Regions from separate parts of the Homo sapiens genome. Here all the other regions are linked to region 1. Evidence: promoter capture Hi-C in human tissues and cell types (Jung and others, 2019). All regions are on one chromosome and are shown on one strand. The core of a region is centred on a gene start or on the middle of the fragment in contact, and the rest is flanking DNA. Distances in the headings are between cores, read along the strand shown. Region 1 holds the start of CERS1 (ceramide synthase 1). Region 2 holds the start of KLHL26 (kelch like family member 26). Region 3 holds the start of FKBP8 (FKBP prolyl isomerase 8).

Region 1 (3,239 bases), core at 345-2,844:
TCCTGTCCCGCAGGGGTGGGGGACGGCTTGCCCTCCTGGGTCTCGGGCTTCCCAGCTGGAAACTGGGAAGAAGGCAGGGGCAACAAGCAGGATAAAGACCACTGCGGACCCAGGGAGGGGCCCTGGACAGCCCTGTCTCCCCCTCCCACAGTAGGGGTGTGGCTGGGGTCTCTCCCTCATGTGGGTGATATGGGGACGGGAGTGGGGAGAGTGGCAGTCAGACAACATCCCATCATCGACCTCACAAGGGCCAGCCTCTTCCCGGCCAGCAGAGAAAGGCCCCTTTGTTGGCGCTGGGCACATTGTCCCTGCACCCTCCAGCCAGACGGGCGGGGTGACACCAGCTGGTCCACGGGGGTGTCCAGGCCAAGCTAAAGGCCCAAACACCTTCCAACCAGCTCCTGCCACAGCGACCCCTCCCCAGGGAAGTGAGTGGGGTCAGGCGCCAATGTCACCATCATGGTCACTCTCTCGCAGGGGCGATGGTCTCCGCAGAAACTGGGGAATTCTGCTGTCGCCTCTTGGAGGCAGCACAGTCCAACCCTGAAGCCCCGGGCCATGTCACCTCCAAGGGAGCGACCACTGGCGTGGCCAGAGCACCCAGGCCCTTGCCATCCCTGGTCGGAGGGTGGCGCTGACCCCAGATAGGCACAAGGCAGCGACCGGGCAGCTCCTGCCTCTTCCCGATTACAGCGGGCAAGCCGGCCCCGCCGCCGCACGGACCCAGCAGAAAACGGGCAGCGGACCTCGCTCCGGGCCGGGGCGCAGCCCGCATGGCAGGGAGGCGCATGGCGCAGGCCGCGGTGCGCCGAGCCCTCCCGTTCCCGGTCCTGGGCTTCTCAGTGTCTGGCTCGGCCCTGCCGGAAAGAGCGCGCGGTGGCCGGAGCCATCCACCGCGCGGGGCCCCCTGGTCCCAAACTGACCGGAAAGGGCCGTGCCTCGGTCCCCCACGTCTCAAACATCCCACCTGTCTCGGGCCCCCCATGTCCCAGACTCACCCCAGCCCGGCCACACCCCCGCATCTACCCGGTTCCCCCACGCAGCACTGTCTGAAGGGGGCGCGCGGCGGCCCGAGAGACCTTATCCTGGGGCTCCAACGTCCTGGGCCTCTCCAGCCCGAGGCCCCCACCCACGTTCCGGCGACCCCTTCATCCGCAGCAGCCAGCGCTGGAAGAAAGGAACGCGCCGGCGGCCCCAGGTCCCCGGTCCCGGCTTCCCCCAGTCCGGGGTCCCCTCGTCCCGGCCCCCGGCCACACTGACCCGAAAGAGGCGCGCAGTGGCCGCGGAGCGCAGGGCGGTCCAGCCCAGCGCGCCGAGCGCCAGCAGCAGCAGCTCGGGCGGCGCCAGGTGCGCGTGCTCAGCCAGGCCGCGACGCGCCAGCCCCCAGCCGCAGTCCGTGCAGCCCCGCGCCGCCGCCAGCGCGCTGCCCCAGCCGCGCTGCACTAGCTGCGCGTAGCTCGGCATGGGCTCGGGCCCCGTCGGCCCCGCCGCGGGCCCCGCCGCCGCCATACCGCCCGCTCGCCCGCCGTGCCCGTCGCCTGCGCCCGCCCGCGGTAGCCGACGGAGCCGCGCGCCCCGCGTCACGCGCCGCAGCTGGGCCGGGGGCGCGCGGGCGGGAGAGCGGAGGGCGGAGGGGCGGGACCGGCGCAAGCTCCGCCCCGCTGGGGGCGCGGCTGGGGGGCGGCCAGCGGGGACGCGGGGCGCCCTGGAGGCGGGCCCGCGCCCCTGCCCGTTTCCCAGCAGAGAAACCCAGGCGCGGGGGCCGGAGCTGGGGGCCCGTTGGACCTGGACCCCGAGAGACCCCGCGCACCGCCGTGTCGCGCCCCCATGCCTGCCCCGCGCGCCCCCCGCTCCCCCACCCCACCGCGCCGTGCCCGTGACGGGGGGCACGGGGGACACTAGCAGGCAGTCCCCTCGACTGGCGACCCCCGCTTCTCCCGGCCCTCCAGCACGCCACGCCGCTCCCGCTCCATCGCCCCGGCCCGCTCCGACCTCACCGTTCTTGGAGCCCTCGCTCCTTCTCAAGGACCCGAGGCCTGGCACGCCTTGGCACAGTCTTGGGACCATCCCGTGGCCCTCCCGCATTCAGGAGGCGTAGGCTCAATGAAACATTCTCATTCTTCAAAAGGACACGGCCCACGCCAGGGCGTTGGGAGGCGCACCTAGTGGAGACGCAGCTCTCTGCCCTACACCAGGAGCTTGGCAATGGGGTTCCAGCTTGGACGCGGGTACCCTGGGCACTTCCCAGGCATCTTCTTCTGCAGGTCTGCACAGCGGGCTACTGGGACAAAGGTGTGATGGGGGCTGCTGAGATTAGGGGGTTCTCTGAGGGTCACTTGCTGCTGTGACCCTGGGGAACCCGGGGGGGGGGCTCCCCAACATCAGGTTAATACATGAGTTGCAGAGAGGCTGCAGGAGTGGGTGCCAACGTGGGAGGGACTCCCAATCTGGATCGACTGTGACATCATTGGGACCACCATAAGTGACTTTCCAATGCACTGTTCATTGACAAGGCCCTGTGCCCAAAGCCACTGAAGGCCATCGAGGAAGACACTGGTCACCTCTGTTAGGACCGCCATCTCCCCAGGCACTGCTGCACCCCCCCTCCATCCTAGCCCGCAGGATGTCCCCACACCTGGCCTTCAAGGTGCAGGATGCAGGGATGAGTCCTGCAGCAGCCGCGCTGGCTCCCGAACACCTGCACCTGAACTTCAGGGGCACAGGTGAACACACCTTCCCCTTGCCCCACACCGAGTCCCCCACAACACATCCAGGTGGCCCTGCATCTGGCCACTTCTCTGCATCTGCACAGCCTTGCCCCCCGCTCCCCGCCACCACCACCACTACCACCACTACCCTCTTCCGTCTGGTATCCTGGCTTCCTCCTCACCCCACAGAGGTGAGAAGGTGGCTGCGACGCTGTTGGCCTGTTCCTCGTCTGCTTGCAGCCCTCTATGGCTCCTGTTCCACTCAGGGAAAGCCCAAGTCCTCACTGGCTGCCCTCACAGCGCCCTGTTTCCCTCCGCCTGTGGGCTTTTCTGCTGTTCTTCCAACATGCCAAGCTCTGTCCTGCCTCAGGGCCTTTGCACTAGCTGTTCCCCCCTCCTGAAATGCTGTTCCCCTAGGTACCTGCATGGCTCTTCTGCCACCTGCTCAGGCTGCCCCCGACTCTGAAGTCACACGCCCCTCATGTCTTCATGTCTGCTTGGCACTTGTCACCATCTGCCCCTACATACATA
Region 2 (3,433 bases), core at 170-2,669, 260 kb before region 1:
TCTAGATGCTTCATAGACGCCTATAGATGCAGGACTTTGAGCCCTGGCTGAGGGTCAGTGTGTTGGGAGGGCTGGTGCTTGGGGATCTGAGGGTGTTGGGTCCGGTGGAATGGACTTTGGGAGTGTAAGGTTTGAAGGATCTGTGGGCAGGGATTTGGGGGAGTGGGAGATGAGTTTTGAGTAGAGAATGGGAGATAATTGGATGTGCAGGGTTTTAGAGTATGAGAAACCAGAATTGGTGTATGAAGCAGGTGGTGGGAACCTAAGGCCAGATGATTGGGGTCTCAGGGTGGAGGCTCTGAAGAGGGTATGTCAGGGGAGGGTGGGGAACCATGAGGGGCTGGAAGTCTGAGGCCTGGGCATGGGTGAGTTTCGCCCCTGAGAGAGGCCTGGGAAGGAGGTAAGACTGGAGTCGGGGTGTGCAGGGTGGGGAGAGGGAGGGTGTGGTTCTCAGAGCTTAGAGACCCATTTCTCCATGCTCCATCTCACCCTCCCTCCCACCCTACCTATAACTCACTTCCCTGTGGCTCCAACGCCTCAAAGTATAACCACGCCCAGCCAACGCCCGGGGCACGCCTGCCAGCGCCCCAGGGCACTCACAGACACTCCTTAACACCTGCACGTGCCCCGCCCCTCCTCAGATCCGCCGCTCACTTAGCCCGGCCCCACCCCCATCAGATGAGGCTCCGCCCCCCCGGCCCCGCCAATCCCTCGCCCCCTCCACGCACACACCCCTGATCTTCCCCGCCCTCCTTCCAACCAGACTCCACCCCTCGCCCAGGCCCCGCCCTTCCTCAGACCAGGCCCTCTCTTCGCTTGACCACATCCATCCCCAGATTCCTCCTCTCTCCTGCCCAGACCCGCCCAACCTCAGACCCATCTTCTCCTTTCTACCTCCCCGACCACTCCCCCACCGCATTCCTAACCTCCACCTTGTCCCTTCTCACACCTGGCCCCGCCCTTTATCCTGCGCCCCGCCTCCTCCGCAGGCCGGACCCTTGTCCCTCCTCCTCTTGCCCTGGGCCTGCCCCTTCTTCAGACCCCGCCCCACTCCTCAGCCCAGGGACCAACCCCATCCTGCGCCTACTTGTCCTGCTTCGCCCCGTCCCCACCTATCCACAGACAATACGCCCTCTCAGCCCAGAACCGCTTCCCTTTCAGACTTGGTTCCGCCCCTCACGCCAGGGTCCCGCCCCAATCCGGCACCCCTAGCCCAGGCCCCGCCCTGGACCCACCTCTCTGCATAGCAGGCCCCTCCCTTTATCCCAGACCCGCCCCGGCCCTCCGTAGACCACGCCCCTCCGATTCCGGGCCCGCCCCAATCCTTGGTTTCTGGTCCCGGCCCCGCCCCTCCGCAGACCTGGCCCCGCCCCGCCCCCCGCGTCTCGGTTTCCCGGGCCTGCGCGCGCGGCTCCCGTCACTCGAACGCGCGACGGCGGGGGGAAGATGGCGGAGTCCGGCGGTAGCAGCGGTGGTGCTGGTGGCGGCGGCGCTTTCGGCGCGGGCCCGGGCCCCGAGCGCCCGAACAGGTGAGACCCGGCCCGCAGGATAGACCTGCACCTGTCTTGGAGCCCAGGAAACCTGTGGGCAGTCTTGGGCGTCCTGAGGGGTTGAGGGGAGGCCTGGCACGGCTCGAGGGTCTTTCGCTGAGAATTTGGACTTTACGGGGCCGTGGGGTACTGGAGGAGCCGAGGGCTACTGAGGGGGTGGCTGGAGGGGGGCTGGGTGCCCCAGGACCTCGAGGCGTCTGCAGGCGGCCCTAGGGACCTGAGAATCCTGGGGGTCTGAAGGGAAACCGAGGGGCTCTTGACTGTGGTGGGCCGTGGGGCAACTGGGGATGCCAAAGGGCCTGGGCAGCAGAGAGGGCCTGAGCAGGGGCCATGCCATGGCCAGTCTGAGGGTGGTGAGGTGTCTTGGGGGCTCTGAGGAAGGGGCTAAGGCCCAAGGCATCCTGGGAGGTGCTGAAGGGCCCCAAGGTGGCTAAAGGTGGTCCTGAGAGCGTGCTGAGGGGCGCTGGAAGGAGTAGAGACTGTGGGAGGCTCTGGGTGGGGGACTTAGGTGAATCTGGGAGTCTGAGATGGGGAGGCTGAGGGGGCCTGGGGTGGGTCTAGGGAACCTGAGGGGGGTGAGAGAACTCCAGGGGGTTTATAAAGAACATACAGAGGGTTCTTCTTTGGGGCTCCTCCCTTCCATCCCCATGGGGTCCAAATCCACATCCCCAACAGGCTAAAGGACTTACAGAAAGGTCTTGCCCTCAGACAAGGGGACAGAATTCACCCCTTTGGTCAGAGGGAGGCCCCCTTTCCCCATGGCCCAGTCCTGACATGGATTGCTTGAACGTCCAGGTTTGCATGACAATTAGTTATCATCAATAACTAATGATATGTGTGTGCATGCATTGTATTGGATTGTCAGAGGGAAAGAACACCTGCCTTAGGAGTGTGATCTCCTGCTCTTTTCCTATTGGGCAAAGCCAGACCCTCCCACCCCAGCTCCTCCTCTAGCCCAGCACCCAGGTCAGGCCAAGGAGGAAATTCAGGCTTTTTCTTGCTGGTGAGCTTCCAGGAGCCAGTAATTTCAGGCAACATGATAAATGATGAAGTTGTTTGATACTTACGTGCTGTGGAGTTTTGGACCTGTGGGCTGATTGTTGGAGGGAATGGCCTGATGGCCTGGCTGTGTGATTTGGTACTGAATGGAACACGCATGGGATGGGTGGGGAAGGGAGGAGGGATGGCTGGGCCAGGGCACAGAGGAGGCAAAGGCCCTGCCTGTTCCTGAGGATGCTGAGTGGCACCTTGAGACTTAGGTCTGTGGGCATTGAATCTGGTCTGCCAGAGGGGCCATGGGGAACCCAGGAGGTGTGTGTCCAGAGGGGTGACCAGCCTCCTGGGGTAGGTGTGGGGCAAGATTGTCCTGCAGTAGGGAGCCAGGAGATGTCAGAGGATTTTCAGAGATATTCAGGGAGTGGCCAGGGCTTGAAAATTGGGTATCAGTTGGCAAGTAAGGGACAGGGAAGAGGGACAGTGAACCCCAGGTCCCTGCCTTGGGCACTGGAGTGGGATAACCTGGGGCTAGGGCTTTTTTTATTTTTATTTTTTTGAAACCCCGTCTCGCTCTGTCACCCAGGTATCTAGGCTGGAGTGCAGTGACGCCACCAAGGCTCACCGCAGCCTCAAACTCCTGGACTCAAGTGATCCTCCCACCTCAGCCTCCTGAGTAGCTGGGACTACAGGTGTGCACCACCACACTTGGCTAATTTTTAAATTTTTTGTAAAGACCAGGTCTTGCTCTGTTGCCAGGCTGGTCTCAAACTCTTGGGCTCAAGCAATCTTCTTGCCTCACCCCTCACTAAGTGCTGAGATTACAGATGTGAGCCACCATGCTGGGCATGGCTCTTTTTTTATAAACAGCTTTATCAAGATATAATTAA
Region 3 (3,487 bases), core at 1-2,500, 350 kb before region 1:
TGCCCAAGGTCACAGAGAAAGCCAAAGGCCAAAGGAGGATTTGAACCTGGGGCTTCAGGCCCTGTGGCTTTGCCTGATTATAAGCTGAGCGAAGGGTGCTGGGATTTTTGTGGAGAGGACAGCCTCCGAGGCCTTAGGGAAGCCATTTTTAGAGCCTCTAAGGCCACTGGGGGAAATTGAATCTTTTACCAGGGCCTCCCACCTCCAGCCTCTTCTCCAAAGGGGAGACCCTCCCCAAAAGCACCAACTGTAATCACCCAGAAACCCCAAGCGTTTTTTCCTTCCACACTCTGAATCTAACACTATCCCCCACAACCCCAACATCAGGGACCCTGGCCCAAATCCTTCCCCAGGAGACCATCCTCCTCTCATCAGGCCTCGGTCCCACCCCCTCAAAGCAGCCTCCTTTCCAGGAGTGGTCGAGGTCCCACCACATTCTACAGCCTCTTCCTTGCCCCAGACCTCCTGAACCAATAACCAACCCCTCCGTCCCCCAGGCCCCAAGCTCAGAAGAGTGTGGCACAGCCATCAAACCAGCCCGCCGCATCCCCTCCCTAACCCTCACCTGCCTGCTCCTCCCGGGCTCGGAGCCCCACTTTGAGAGACCCTCCCAGCCCCCACCCCCATAATTCCCCGCGCCCGCACAATTCGGCCTCCCCTCCCACCCCCCACCCCAACCACCACCGCCCCCAGCACGGGCCAGCTCCCCCCACAGCCGCTCCGTCTCGCCGTAAACACTCCAGTGTCCCCAGACGCCCCCCCCTTTCCGATCCCATAACACCCCACGCTCTCCTGACGCCCCACAGCCCCGGCCGGGCCCTCAGTCAAGCCGCGACCCAGGCCCCCAACGACCCACGCCTGTCTGACGCCACCAGTCTGGGGCACCCGACCCCCGCACGCCTCGGGCGCCCCTGGCCCTGCACGCCTCCATCGGGACCCCCCCACTGGATCCCCTTTGCCCCCAGTGACCCCCATCCCTGGCCACCCCCGCCCGGCCGCGCCCCCTCGGGCACCCCCGACCCCCGTGCCCCCCCGGCTCGCCACCCCCGCGGCCCCTCGCCCCGCCCATCGGCCGCAGCCCCCGGCGCGCTAGCCCCCGGACCAGCCTAGGCCAGGGCAGCGGCCCGGCCGGCACGGCGCCCCCAGCACCCCAGGACACTTGCCTCTGGCTCCGGGACCCCCACTTGGGGTCCTGCGCCCCCCTCCCCGCCCCCAGCCGCGGCCGCCGCGCCTCGGGAACCAGGTTCGGCCGCTTGGCCCCGCCCCTGCCGTGCCCATTGGCCGCCGCTGCCGCGACTGCCGCACCCGTTGGCTCATGCAGACGTCCGTCCCGGGCGTTGGCACCTCCCCCTTCCTGCTTGGCCCCGCGGGGCGTTCTTAAAGGGACCGAAGCCTCCCGGCTGCTGGGGCTGGGGCGGGGGCTGGGGCGGGGGCTGGGGCGGGGGCTGGGGCGGGGGCGGGGGACCCTGGGCTGGACCCCAACACGGGTCAGTATCGCGCAGCCTGTGCGACTCCTGCCTCTCCTCTGAGCTTCATCCTGACCATCTGCGAAATGGGGATAAACACCCCCATCTATGCACTCTCACCTTGGGGGCTGCTGGGGGCACAGTCCACTCTAAATGTTATTTCCTTAAAGAGTTCAAGCTTGACGGGCAGGGCAGCTCTGGGGTTGCTGAATGACCCATCCTGAAGCCTTAGTTACAGAAGTGAACCTGAGGGCCTGAGGAGGAGTGACGTGCCCAAAGGCATACAGAAACCTCCCTCCCATCCCCCACACAGTTTAATGTCTAGAAGGTTGCCTGGTGCATACTGGAGGCGCTCGATTACTGCTGCGCAGGCGACTGAGCCAGCAGGGCCACTGGGAGGAGTTCCTCCTCTATGCACTGTCTGCTGGAGGGTGATAAGGTCCCCATGGCTCGGGAAGAAGGTGGCATCCTTGATTAGCTAAGTTTTTGTGGATCTTGTTTTGAAACCGGGACACTTCTCCCTCCTTCACTCAGTTTTATTTCCTTCCTAGCAGTTACTCCTTCCAGAATTATCTTGTCATTATTTTGCTTGTGGTTGGAGGGACCATCCCTCACTCTGCTTCATCCTGGCAGAGATTTTTACCTGATTTGTACCCAGCACCTCCTTGAACCATGCCTGGCATCTATAGAAGCTCAATAAATGGGTAGGTGGATGGATGGATGGATGGATGGATGGATGGATGGATGGATGAGTCAGACACCAGCTTTTGGAGGTAGCTATCATGGAGGTGGTAACTGGCTTTTTGGAGATCACTTCTAAGGTTGGAGTTCCCAGGTTACCTCCTACAGGAAGCCCTCCCAACCTCCCCAAGGCAAGACCAGGTGCCCCCTTTAGCTGTCTTGGCACAATGAAGTTGATGAACGTCCACTTCATAACTAGTTTACTTGGGTTTTTTGTTTGTTTGTTTGTTTTTGTTTTTTGAGAAGAAGTTTCACTCTTGTTGCCCAAGCTGGAGTGCAATGGCGCAATCTCAGCTCACCGCAACCGCTGCCTCCCAGGTTCAAGCGATTCTCCTGCCTCAGCCTTCCAAGTAGCTGGGAGTAGAGGCATGCACCACCATGCCTGGCTAACTTTGTATTTTTAGTAGACACGGGATTTCTTCATGTTGGTCAGGCTGGTCTCAAACTCCCGACCTCACGTGATCCGCCCACCTCGATGTACCAAAGATTACAGGCATGAGCCATCGTGCCTGGCCTTTTTTTTTTTTTTCTTTCTCTTTTTTTTTTGAGACAGAGTCTCTCTCTGTCGCCAGGCTGGAGTGCAGTGGCGCGATCTCGGCTCACTGCAACATCCACCTCCTAAGTTCCAACGATTCTCCTGCTTCAGCCTCCTGAGTAGCTGGGACTACAGGCACCCGCCACCATGCCCAGCTAATTTGTATATTTTTAGTAGAGACAGGGTTTCACCATGTTGGCCAGGATGGTCTGGAACTCCTGACCTCATGATCTGCCTGCCTCGGCTTCCCAAACTAGTTTACTTATATCTCTGCCTTTTTTTTTTTGAGATAGGGTCTTACTTTGAAACCCAGGCTGGAGTGCAGTGGCACGATCTCAGATCACTGCAACCATGTCTATCTCCTGGGCTCACGCAATCCTCCTGCCTCAGCCTCCTGAGTAGCTGGGCCCACAGGTGCACCATCATGTCCAGCTAATTTTTTTTTTTTTTTTTGAGACAGAGTCTCGCTGTGTAGCCCAGGCTAGAGTGCAGTGGCGCAATCTCGGCTCACTGCAAGCTCCGCCTCCCAGGTTCACACCATTCTCCTGCCTCAGCCTCCCAAGTAGCTGGGACTACAGGCGCCTGCCACCATGCCCGACTAATTTTTTGTATTTTTAGTAGAGTCAGCGTTTCATCGTGTTAGCCAGGATAGTCTCGATCTCCTGACCTTGTGATCTGCCCACCTCGGCCTCCCAAAGTGCTGAAATTACAGGCGTGAGCCATCGCGCCCGGCCCAATGTTTATA

The links. The method cuts DNA at HindIII sites, captures the fragments that hold promoters and counts their contacts. A contact is called where the count stands out against the background at its distance.
Region 2: a contact is called between the fragment with the promoter of KLHL26 here and the fragment with the promoter of CERS1 in region 1, in 2 of the 25 tissues and cell types used here (dorsolateral prefrontal cortex and mesenchymal stem cells).
Region 3: the fragment with the promoter of FKBP8 here is called in contact with the fragment with the promoter of CERS1 in region 1 in 3 of the 25 tissues and cell types used here (IMR-90 fibroblasts, dorsolateral prefrontal cortex and lymphoblastoid cells).

What each region holds. Positions count from the first base shown.
Region 1 is chr19:18,894,564-18,897,802 of GRCh38, forward strand. It overlaps CERS1 (ceramide synthase 1), which reads right to left and starts at 1,595. Exons shown (of 8, transcript NM_021267.5): 1 at 1,261-1,595. The coding sequence starts at 1,509. GDF1 (growth differentiation factor 1) reads right to left here and starts at 1,595. Exons shown (of 8, transcript NM_001492.6): 1 at 1,261-1,595. RefSeq lists a silencer at 596-645. The HindIII fragment of the contact is 24,852 bases long and covers 1-3,239 here.
Region 2 is chr19:18,635,609-18,639,041 of GRCh38, forward strand. It overlaps KLHL26 (kelch like family member 26), which reads left to right and starts at 1,420. Exons shown (of 3, transcript NM_018316.3): 1 at 1,420-1,529. The coding sequence starts at 1,447. RefSeq lists silencers at 565-754, 795-874, 885-1,044, 1,095-1,604 and enhancers at 1,091-1,385, 1,344-1,858, 1,859-2,373. The HindIII fragment of the contact is 11,173 bases long and covers 1-3,433 here.
Region 3 is chr19:18,542,323-18,545,809 of GRCh38, forward strand. It overlaps FKBP8 (FKBP prolyl isomerase 8), which reads right to left and starts at 1,251. Exons shown (of 9, transcript NM_012181.5): 1 at 1,164-1,251. RefSeq lists a silencer at 1,067-1,496. The HindIII fragment of the contact is 12,332 bases long and covers 1-3,487 here.